2 separate regions of the Homo sapiens genome follow, and region 1 is linked to region 2. The links are contacts of gene promoters, found by promoter capture Hi-C in human tissues and cell types (Jung and others, 2019). All regions are on one chromosome and are shown on one strand. The core of a region is centred on a gene start or on the middle of the fragment in contact, and the rest is flanking DNA. Distances in the headings are between cores, read along the strand shown. Region 1 overlaps TP53BP1 (tumor protein p53 binding protein 1). Region 2 holds the start of ZSCAN29 (zinc finger and SCAN domain containing 29).

Region 1 (5,833 bases), core at 397-2,896, 100 kb after region 2:
GAAAGCTTTCTTGTGAATAAAGTAATATAAAATCTCTAAGTCGTCAAAGGAGTAAATGAATGAAGTTAAAATTTTTACCACCTACTCTTAACCATTCTTATGCTAAAACTATTTTAATAGCAAAAATAACCTATAAGGACCACAAGAAACAATTGCTGGTTCCTTCTCACCAGAAATGTGTTCACGTGTTGCTAGAAACAAGTAGGCCATTATTAATAAGTCCAGTTCTTCCCCATACTAATTCATTTCAGTTCAACTTTAAAAACAAAAATTTTTCCTTCAGAGCCTTTTTAAAAATTGAGCCAATACAGAAATCTCAATAGAATTAGTGCTAGAAAAGCAAAGAATGGGGGATGGTGTGTCCAGAATTGGTGGGTTCTTGGTCTCACTGACGTCAAGAATGAAGCCGCGGACCCTCACGGTGAGAGTTACAGCTCTTAAGGTGGCGCGTCTCGAGTCTGTCCCTTCTGATGTTCAGATGTGTTCGGAGTTTCTTCCTTCTGGTGGGTTCGTGGTCTCGCTGGTTCAGGAGTGAAGCTGCAGACCTTCGCGGTGAGTATTACAGCTCTTAAGGCAGCGCGTCTAGAGTTGTTCGTTCCTCCCAGTGGGCTCGTGGTCTCGCTGGCTTTAGGAGTGAAGCTACAGACCTCGCAGTGAGTGTTACAGCTCATAAAAGCAGCGTGGACCCAAAGAGTGAGCAGTAGCAAGATTTATTGCAAAGAGTGAAAGAACAAAGCTTCCACACTGTGGAAGGGGACCCGAGCGGGTTGCCACTGCTGGCTCGGGCAGCCTGCTTTTATTCTCTTATCTAGCCCCACCCACATCCTGCTGATTGGTAGAGCCAGTGGTCTGTGCTGACAGGGGGCTGATTGGTGCATTTACAATCCCTGAGCTAGACACAAAGGTTCTCCACGTCCCCACCAGATTAGCTAGATACAGAGTGTCCACACAAAGGTTCTCCAAGGCCCCACCAGAGTAGCTAGATACAGAGTGTCCATTGGTACATTCACAAACCCTGAGCTAGACACAGGGTGCTGATTGGTGTGTTTACAAACCTTGAGCTAGAAACAGAGTGCCGATTGGTGTATTTACAATCCCTGAGCTAGACATAAAGGTTCTCCACGTCCCACCAGAGCAGCCAGATACAGAGTGTGGATTGGTGCATTCACAAACTCAGAGCTAGACACAGGGTGCTGACTGGTGTGTTTACAAACCCTGAGCTAGATACAGAGTGCCGATTGGTGTATTTACAATCCCTGAGCTAGACATAAAGGTTCTCCACGTCCTCACCAGACTCAGCAGCCCAGCTGGCTTCACCCAGTGGATCTCGCACGGGGGCTGCAGGTGGAGCTGCCTACCAGTCCTGTGCCGTGCTCCTGCACTCCTCAGCCCTTTGGGTGGTCGATGGGACTAGGTGCCGTGGAGCAGGGGGCAGTGCTCATCAGGGAGGCTCAGCCACACAGGAGCCCACGGAGGGGGTGGAAGGCTCAGGCATGGCGGGCTGCAGGTCCCGAGTCCTGCCCCACTGGAAGGCAGCTAAGTAAGGCCCGGCGAGAAATCAAGCGCAGCGCCGGTGGGCTAGCACTGCTGGGGGACCCAGTACACCCTCCATAGCCGCTGGCCCGGGTGCTAAGCCCCTCATTGCCCGGGGGGCCGGCAGGGCCGGCCGGCTGCTCCGAGTGCAGGACCCGCCAAGCCCACACCCACCAGGAACTCCAGCTGGCCCGCAAGCGCCGCGCACAGCCCCGGTTGCTGCTCGCACCTCTCCCTGCACGCCTCCCTGCAAGCTGAGGGAGCGGGCTCCAGCCTTGGCCAGCCCAGAAAGGGGATCCCACAGTGCAGCGGTGGGCTGAAGGGCTCCTCAAGTGCCGCCAAAGTGGGAGCCCAGGCAGAGGAGGCGCCGAGAGCGAGCGAGGGCTGTGAGGACTGCCAGCACGCTGTCACCTCTCAATGGGGTTAGACAAAAAAAAAAAAAAAAAAAGGAAGGAAGGAAAAGCAAAGAACTGAGGACAGCACTTTACAGTAGGTCACATCCCTAAAGGTTAGACAAACATGAGTCCTACCGAATTGTGTAGGTCACAAGCATTCTAAAGTACAAAGAAGTAGTACATTTTGCAAGGCAGAAAAAGTGTTGCTCCTCTTCTAATCTGAGATCAACAGACAGATCAAGAGAGCTCACCTTGTCTCCCTTCTTGCTCTGTGGGACTGCTAGGAACGATAAAAGGAGTAGATCGGAAAGCATCAGGAGAAGGAGCAACAAGATCTGAAGAATTCCTTTATATAAAGAGAGAATCACAGGTTATTTTACCATAGCCACAGTTTTGCATTTCTGTATTTGCTTTTACTTTTTAACAGGAAAAAATATCTAAGGCATTCAGATAAATACTTATCAGCACTTTTCCCCAACAGCAACCTGAGGCTGGTGGAAGAACCAAAAATACTTCAATAACTATTTCCCACACCAGACATTTCTGTTGTAAAATAAGAACTTTTTCAAAAAGAGAGTAAGGGCAAAGTGAATGATCAGACACAAGGACATCATGATTTAAAAGCAAAATGAGCAGTGCTAGGAAATAAATTCATTTGCAGATTTGAGACATAAAAAAAATTATTCCATTTTTTTGCCTAATAATAGTCAGACCATGAACATTTTCATCAGAAAACTAAAACTAAACAAAAAAAACCAACAAGCGAACCTCTTTGCCCTAACATAAAGAAATCCAACTACTGTCAACTTAACAACCTATTCTCCACCCTCTGCTATTAAATGAGAAGAATTGCAAGTAAAACAGAGGAGCAGAATGCTTGTTTTGGATGTGTAACATTTTCTAAATAACTGCGCCTTTTCTTTCTTAGTGAAACGTTTGGGCTACTATTATAAAATTTTCAAATGGGACAACAGATTTATCTGCCTTCAACAGTTCTTCATCCCCAAAGCTCTAATGCATAGGTTCTACCATTTGGTTTCAAAAAGAATTCTAGACTAGCAGATAAGTTTAGCCTCTTTCAGCCTTAGCCTAAGACTCTCAGGCACATACTGCCTTGGCATAAGCTATTTTAGGCTTACTTACGTGGAAAGACTGTCCTGAACAAGGGACCTCTGACCAGAGAGCTGCAGGAGATGCAGAGTGGTGGCAGGAGTGGAAGCCAAAGAACACCCACCTTCCTCCCTTGAAGGAGTAGAGCAACCATCAGAAGATACTGAAAAAAAGAAATTCCAGTTGCACTTCTCAGATTGACACTACTGAGCTGCCAAAAACCATTCAGTACTGCAAAGAGTAATATCCATATTTCCAACATATTTCCATATTTCCAAAAGGGCAGAAATTGTTTTCTAATTATAGTACAACGAATGGACTACTACAATAGCACAAATCTTGAGTGAACATTAACCACCCCCGCAATGGGCTTCTTGAATAAAGAACTGATGAAGAGTTCCTTAGTCCTTTCTGTCATGATCTAAGCTTGGAGATTAAAAGCCAGAATCCTGGATGGGCGCAGTGGCTCACACCTGTAATCCTAGCACTTTGGGAGGCTGAGGCGGGTGGATCATCTGAGGTCAGGAGTTCAAGACTAGCCAGACCAACATGGTGAAACCTCATCTCTACTAAAAATACAAAAATTAGCTGGGCGTGGTGGTATGCGCCTGTAATCCCAGCTACTTGGAAGGCTAAGGCAGGAGCATCACTTGAACCTGCTAGGCAGAGGTTGCAGTGAGCTGAGATTGCACCACTGCACTCCAGCCTGGGCAACAGAGGGAGACTCCGTCTCAAAAAAATAAATAAATAAATAAAATAAAAGCCAGAATCCTTATACTTCTGCTTAGCTGCTCTTCTTTCTTGTGATGCTTCTATTAAAAAACAGCAAATGAGCCTTTTATTCCAACGTCTACCTTAGGTGAAGTCAAGCTCATGCCATGATACAGATGGGAGAAGTCAAAAAAATGCACATGACACTTGATGTTATAAATGCAGCAGTTTTCAAGATTTGGGCCTGCTCAAAGGAGTAAAAGGATTTATGAGCAGCCATTACTGTTTTATACTATGAAGAGTCTCTTGTTGGTCCCTTCCCCTTAGCAATAGATGGAGTATCAACTATATTAATCCCAGTGTAAAAGAATTTCTTAAATAAAACCTTACAACTTTAGTAAGAGACCAACAAAGGTTCCTCGGTGACCCTCTGAATGTCTTGCACAGCAACCTGTATCACAGCATAGCAAAGGAAGATAGCCTTCTTCCCTTCCCGCCTTACAACCAACATAATATGTTTTGCTGGTAATTAACTCAAGCTTTCTAGCTCTCTGAGGCTGTGGAATGAAAGATTGGTGGAGGTTAAAGAGGTGTGAAACAAATTATATCCTTTTAAGTTTTATGTCCTTTCCGCTAGATTTTAAATTCCTATCTGTGTCAGATTAACTAATAAACAGATTAAGTTAGTAAACTGTTACCCAGATGAATATGAAAAACCTAGGCTTAATATCATATTGAAGATTTGAAGACATAGTAGCCATGTAACAGAAAATGGCAGCCAGGTGTGGTGACTCATGCCTGTAAGCCCAGCACTGTGGGAGGCCAAGGCAGGCGGATCACAAGGTCAGGAGATCAAGACCATCATGGCTAACACAGTGAAACCCCATCTCTACTAAAAATACAAAAAATTAGCCAAGCATGGTGGCGGGTGCCTGTAGTCCCAGCTACTAGGGAGGCTGAGGCAGGAGAATGGCATGATCCCGGGAGGCGGAGCTTGCAGTGAGCCGAGATTGCGCCACTGCACTCCAGCCTGGGTGACAGAGTGAGACTCCATCTCAAAAAAAAAAAAAAGAAAAAAAGAAAATGGCTAGTATCCATAATACTAAATTTACTGTATTAGCTATTCTTCACCATCTCATTTCCAAAAGAGAGAAAATTATGTCAAAATATTAAATGGAAATTATTCCCAAAAAGCCCTTCTCACTAATTACTAGAAACACGTTTTCCTTCCATATCACAAACAAGTCTGCAAACCTATAAAATGCTTTGTAACTTAACCAGTAGCCTCAGAACTAAAGTAAAAGTTTAGATCTTTGGAGAAGAGCTGTAACGACAAATCACTCTTGGTACCTGTTTTATTGCTCTGGTCAAACAAGTCTTCCTGAGTTGACAAAACCTCAGGCTCTGGTGACTTCTGAATCTGCAGTCCACTTTCCATAAGTTCTTGTGCAGACAACTGTTCTTTTGCTTCCATAGCAGCAACAGATGCTTTGGGGCTAAAAGGCATGTCCTCTGACCTAGGAAATTCATATCACCAGGAGAAAAAGTTCCTAAGTTCAAATGTTTTTAAATAAAAAGCTTTTCCTGTTTTGTGTGTTTTTCTTTAATAATTTCAAAAATTCCAGTGGCTCTAATTTACATAATTATATATTAAAAAGGAAATAAACTACTCTTTATAGTGATAAAAGTCCTCAGCCCATTTTAAAACCTGTCTCACTCTCTCTCACAGCCAATACCTGTCTTCAACTCTGCTCAATACTGTGCTTCATGCTTTCTAAGATTTCTGATGAGTAACTTGGGGAATTTTTGTTACATATAATGTTATCTAGACCTGTATAAAGAATTCTGATCCAGACCCCAATGATGCCAGTAAGGAGAACAGTCCAAACCATGACATTCCATGGAAAGCATTTGATGTCAATTATCCTCCTTACTAGTGCCACACACATCTTCTGCTGACCTTTTCCATTTGATGTACCCAAACCCCAAACCAATTCTCCTTCAGATCAATACTAACATGTATAAGACATTCATCCCTGGCCCCTTTCCAGAGACTTATGAGGTTCACCTGTTCTACCACTCCC
Region 2 (5,657 bases), core at 768-3,267:
GGGTTCCACTGACTCCTGCCGAACACTTAATAACTCTTGTGATGATTTCGGGGGTGTCATCTTCTCCAAGCGCACTTCCTGCCCCTTCACAGAGACTGTGACCTAGAAACAACCCCCGTTAATTGTCACTGCAAGATCATAATGAGGGGCATTCCCAGAGGAGAGTATTTAATACCCCAAAAGAGATCATCTTTCAGAGCCATGGCCAGGGTTGTAGGGGTGAGGGAGGTTAACGCGAACAAGGGTCTTATTCCATTGCCATTAGCTTAAAGCAGTTGAAACTCCAGAAGGAAACGATCAAAATAGTAAACCCACCTTCAGGCTGAAAAAAAAAAATCCCCTTTCTTCCCTATTAAGAAACTATAGGAAAAACTCATTATGACAGGGTAGGTGAAGGTACACCCAGGAAGCATCTCCAGACAAGCACTATCTGAAAAAGTTACCTATACCAGACCAGAAGTATAAGCCTCACCAAGGGAGACTGTGTCCCTCTTTAAGCCTGTCTATATCTTAATTTAGCCCTCCACCCAGTATCACACTTTTGAATTTGAATTCCCCCTCCCTTCTCACCGAAGATCTAGGTCTTCCAGGCTCTCTTTCTAAATCTTCCACGAGAGTCACTGCCTCCTCTCCATTTTCTGGACATTGTTCCTGTACCCAATTCTGGATCTCCCCAGGTAAGACGGTCAGGAACTGCTCTAGCACCAACAGTTCTACAATCTGCTCCTTGGTGCGCACCTCCGGCCTTAGCCACCGACAGCAAAGTTCCCAGAGTTGGCTGAAAGCCTCCCGCGGCCCAGCCACCTCCTGGTAATGGAATCTCCTGAAACGCTGTCGGAAGGTCTCAGAGTTAGTGCCATTCTCTCTTAGAGCTGATTTGGCCATCATTAATAGCAGAATGCAGCTTCCCTTCGCTTAGGAGTCTGGGTTCCAGGGCTTACATCTATCTTCCCATGTCCTTGGAGAATCCCCTGCAGATGACTGTAAGAGGTGTTTCTTCCTAGGGCAGAGAAAGATGGCACTATCAGAAGGAATACATTCATATGTCTAAAGTCTTGCCAGAGCTGGCCTGCCTTTCCATGTGCTCCGAGTGGCCTTCTAAGGTAGCACAATCTTCAGTAAATAGACTTTGCAAAAACTGCTTTTCTGGTTGACTTCCAGGGCAGCCCCAGGAAGCAGCAGAGAATAAAAGTACTGTCTGCCCCTCTCCCACCTCCTCCAAATCCGATCCCATTTAACTTCCCTGGCCAATGTTGCACAGTGAGTCCGAACCATATAGGAGAGCTGGAGTTCGAGAGGATCTAAAGACAAGTCACCATCCTGCTTGAAGGCAACAAAAAGCCTCTGTCCAGCTGGTCGCAGCTGATCTCCCCCAGTATCTCCGCAGTCCTTCCCGAGGCCTTCTGCGTCCGCCCCGCCCCCTCGGGCTGCACAACTCCCAAAGCCCACCCCAGGCAAAAATCACGTCCAGAATCTCGGGTCTTTGTTTTCCCCGCGTAGTAGTAGCCGCTCAGCAAGGATTAGGGAGCTACCTGTCGGAAAACCTCGCGCAAGGAGAGAAGCTGGTTTTGGCTCCAAAGCGAGGACCATGGGGGCTTGGGGAGAGTCACATTGGGCAGGAGAGACGGAATCCGAGGAGCAGTAGTAACGGGCTTCCTGAGGACGGGCTCGGGTGTCGGCCAGAGGCTCCAGGTGCTGCCGGTTCGCGGACGCAGAGCTCTCAGCCCAAGGAGCAGCGGCTGCGGGATTCTGGCCTCTTTTGTCTCCGCTCCCTCCGGCCGGGTAACCCGGAGCCGTCGTGCGGTCCCTCCAGAGGCCTCTGACCCGGCTAAGGCGCCCTGAGGGCGCCCTCCAGCCCACCCCTGGGAGCGTCTCCCTCTCGAGCTGCCCCTCAACCCCCTCGCATCCTTGCCTCCGGGCCAGCCTCACCCACTCGGGGTCCGACCCTGACCCCGGCCCCGGCCCCGGCCCCGGCCCCGGCTCTCCAGCCTCCCAAGTACAGCTCCCAAACCGGAAGTCCGAGCGGGCGGCTCGGGGCACCGAGGGCGCATGCGCGAGGGCAGCGACCGCGACTCAGTCTCCGCAGAGCCCGGGCGGGAGTAGCTGGTGGACCCCGTTGAGCTGCCGAACTTCCGGGACTCCCCCGCGACCCCTTCCCAGCTTCCCGTCCGCTCCGCCGCAGCGATTGTCTCGGTGGGTTGATTCGGCACAAACCGCCCGACCCAGGGGCCGGTGCGCGTGTGGAAGGGGAAGCACTCCCCTCGTGGTCGCCTGGAGGTGCGCTGGAGGAGGGGGTGACATAACCAGGGACTCGAGGTCCGCCGTGGGAATGATCCACGAACTGCTCTTGGCTCTGAGCGGGTACCCTGGGTCCATTTTCACCTGGAACAAGCGGAGTGGCCTGCAGGTACTGTCCGGCGCAGAGCGCGGGAACCAGGGAGCGCAGGAGGGGGGACCTGAGCCAGCGCCTGGGGGAGTAGGCTGAGGGACCTAGCGAGCGGGGCTTCCAGGGCTGGGGGCGTATCCCTGGACAGGTGACTGGAGGGCAGCCCCTTAGGGTCAAGGCTGATGCGACACCTAGAGAGGCCGGGCCTAGGCTAGAAAACGGAGGGCAGACCTCGAAGAGCCCCACCTGTGGCGGGGCGAGGAAAGGGCCTGAGGTCCAGGTGTCTGACAGTTGCTGGGGAATGATATAGAAGTGTGGGAGGCACTTTCTCCTATTTATTTTCACACGTGCATTGTTTGAGTTTTGAAGTACTGGGCCAAATACACAGCTCCCAAACACATGGTAAGCGCTCAGTAAAGTTTGTTGAAGGAAATAAATGAAATCGAGAGCGTGTGGTGTTTCCCTCATTACTCCTTTACCAGAAAATTTCTGCACTAGGTAAAGCACTTGGTAGGGGGCCTTTGTGTAACCAGGAATGTATGATGTTCCGTATGCATTATCTTATTTAATCCTCACAACCACCTTATCCATTTTACAGATTAAGCTAGGTTTAGAATAGTTAAATAACTATCGGGGTCATAGCTAGTAATTAACAGAGCTTAGTTTTGAAGCCAGGTCTGTCTGGCTTCAGTATTTGAACTACTTTTACCTGCTTCTGCTTCCAGTAATGTTATCTAATGCTCTCAATAATTTAGTCCACTTAGGTATTGTTTCTACCAGTTAACAAATGAGCAAACTGAAGCTCAGAAAACTTTATGCTGGCCAGTCCTAGTAGTGGCAAGACTGAAATCTAGGTCCGTCTGATCACCAAGACATGCCGATTCTTAGGAGACTGTGGAAGAGCAGAAAAAGTACATTCTTAGTCTATAAAACCTATAAATCAAACAGTTTCCTTTCGTTATTATTTATGAACATGTATTTGGAGTTTGGGAGTTTAGGTGAATTTTTGAAAAAAACAGGTGAAGATTTGTGTGGTGGAGTTTGAATTGTTATCTTTCACCTGTAGGTCTTTGAAGACTAATTCGATGTTTCACTTTTCTCCATAGATCTTAGTACAATGCCAGGCATATAGGAGGACAGTATTTAGGAAGTATGTGGGTGCCTGATGGTCCAAAATAAGAAGAGATAACACAGTACAGGAAAGATAGCTAGGGAGGGGGTGGGGGAGACAACCACAAGTAATTCATCTTTTCCCTTCCTTTCTTTCTTATGAAAAATTCTCAATCATGTATTTTCTACCATTTCATCCTCAAGGTCTCAGCTTTAAAGTCACTTTGTCAGAAAAACTTTCTCTGAGCACATCTTTAAGCATCCTCCCCTGATGCCATTATTCTCCATCAACTTGTTTATTTCCCTTGTAGGATTTGTCACAATTCATAATGTATTGTTGTTACCTGTTTTTAGCCTTTCTCCCGCATAGATTGCCCCTGGGAGCGAAGACCAGTGGTCTTCTTCATTCATCTACCCAGAGCACCTAGCACAGTTTCTGCCACATAGCAGGTGTTTAGGTATTGATGGAAGAAAAGAAGACAAAGATGGCAAATATTACATAATTTCTGCAGAGCAGTGTCTTTTACATTTGAGTAAAGGGAAAAGTTGTCATGAGTGCCAAGTGTTAATGAAAATTATTTTATTATATTGAATATGTATATACATAAGCTAGGTATAAACTCAAGCATAATACTCTTAAACAACTATAAAATCAAATATTTTTATAAATTAAAAGTAAACAAAACTACCAAATCAATAAGTTCAAATGACCATTATTCTAATGCAGGATTTCTCAGCCTGTTCCTATAACTGTGTTATATAGAATGGTATCAGTAACTTCGAGTTATTATTTGCTGTTTCAGAATAATTAGATATTGAACTTTTCGAAAACTCTGCCAACAAGAAACGCTCAAATGCCAATTTTAATAGTAGTATCACTTGATAACTGGTAGAGCTGTCTTGTTAATAATATAAAATTGCTTATGTGTATTGAGCACTAGCTATGTGGTTGGGATATGTGCTTTACACATGTATTAACTTATTTAATCCTCACAATTATTTTCTTCAGTTTATAGGTATGAAAACAGGCACAGACAGGTATAGTAACTTGCCTAAGCTTTCAAGCAAGTAAGAGGCAACTCAGGGATTCAAACCCAGGCAGTTGGGCTCCAGAGACCAGGTTCTTTTTTTTTTTTTTTTTTTCCGAGATGGAGTCTCGCTCTGTCGCCCAGGCTGGAGTGCAGTGGTGCAATCTCGGCTCACTGCAAGCTCCACCTCCTGGGTTCACGCCATTCTCCTGCCTCAGCCTCCCGAGCAGCTGGGACTACAGGCGCCTGCCGCCACACCCGGCTAATTTTTTTGTAGTTTTTTTAGTAAAGATGGGGTTTCACCGTGTTAGCCAGGATGGTCTCGATCTCCTGACCTCGTGATCCGCCCACCTCGGCCTCCCAAAGTGCTGGGATTACAGGCGTGAGCCACTGCGCCCGGCAAGAGACCAGGTTCTTAAGCACCGTGTTGTGCAACCTCTTAAGTTACTAACTTGAAGATGTGATTAGCATTGTGTCATTAAAATCTACATTAATTGGATTCCTAATCAATTTTCTATGGACTTGGTAACAGAAAAATTCTTCTTCGCCTATTTGTTACCACATTTACTGTCATATAAAATGGCATCCACATATAATCCATATTATATATCCATCCATATAATATGCTAAGTTCCTTTGGAGCAGTAATTGTATCTGATTTTGTTCACTCTTTTATCTCAAAGTATTAGCACAGTACCTGGGATATAGTAATGGAAATGTAAAATGGTACAGCCATTGTGGAAAATGGTATGGCAGTTCTTCAAAAAATTAAATAAAGGCCAGGCACAGCGGCTGACACTTGTGATCTCAGCACTTTGGGAGGGTGAGGCTGGAGGATCAGTTAATGCCAGGAGTTTGAGGCTAGCCTGCGCAACAGAGCAAGACTCCATCTCTACAAAAAAAAAATTTTTAATTAGCTGGGCATGGTGACACATGCCTGTAGTCCTAGCTACTCTGGTGGCTGAGGTGGGAGAATTGGTTGAACCTAGGGGTTCAAGGTTACAGTGAGCTATGAACCCACCACTGTATTCCAGTCTGGGTGACAGAGTGAAACCTTGTCTCTAAAAAAAAAAATTAAATATAAAATTCCCATACAATCTAGCAGTTCTACTTCAGGGTATATCCCAAAAGAA

What was found. Contacts are between HindIII fragments. The study calls those that stand out against the background at their distance.
Region 1: a contact is called between a fragment that was not itself captured here and the fragment with the promoter of ZSCAN29 in region 2, in 2 of the 25 tissues and cell types used here (H1 embryonic stem cells and IMR-90 fibroblasts).

The regions. Positions count from the first base shown.
Region 1 is chr15:43,472,494-43,478,326 of GRCh38, forward strand. It overlaps TP53BP1 (tumor protein p53 binding protein 1), which reads right to left. Exons shown (of 28, transcript NM_001141980.3): 8 at 5,100-5,266; 9 at 3,072-3,201; 10 at 2,180-2,274. Among named protein-coding and RNA genes, the nearest start is that of TP53BP1, 18 kb to the right of the region's middle. RefSeq lists a silencer at 4,711-4,952. The HindIII fragment of the contact is 4,460 bases long and covers 1-3,876 here.
Region 2 is chr15:43,369,026-43,374,682 of GRCh38, forward strand. ZSCAN29 (zinc finger and SCAN domain containing 29) reads right to left here and starts at 2,018. Exons shown (of 6, transcript NM_001372080.1): 1 at 1,533-2,018; 2 at 571-1,000; 3 at 1-102. The coding sequence starts at 888. It overlaps TUBGCP4 (tubulin gamma complex component 4), which reads left to right and starts at 2,076. Exons shown (of 18, transcript NM_014444.5): 1 at 2,076-2,407. The coding sequence starts at 2,330. RefSeq lists a silencer at 1,717-1,986 and an enhancer at 2,087-2,206. The HindIII fragment of the contact is 7,589 bases long and covers 1-5,657 here.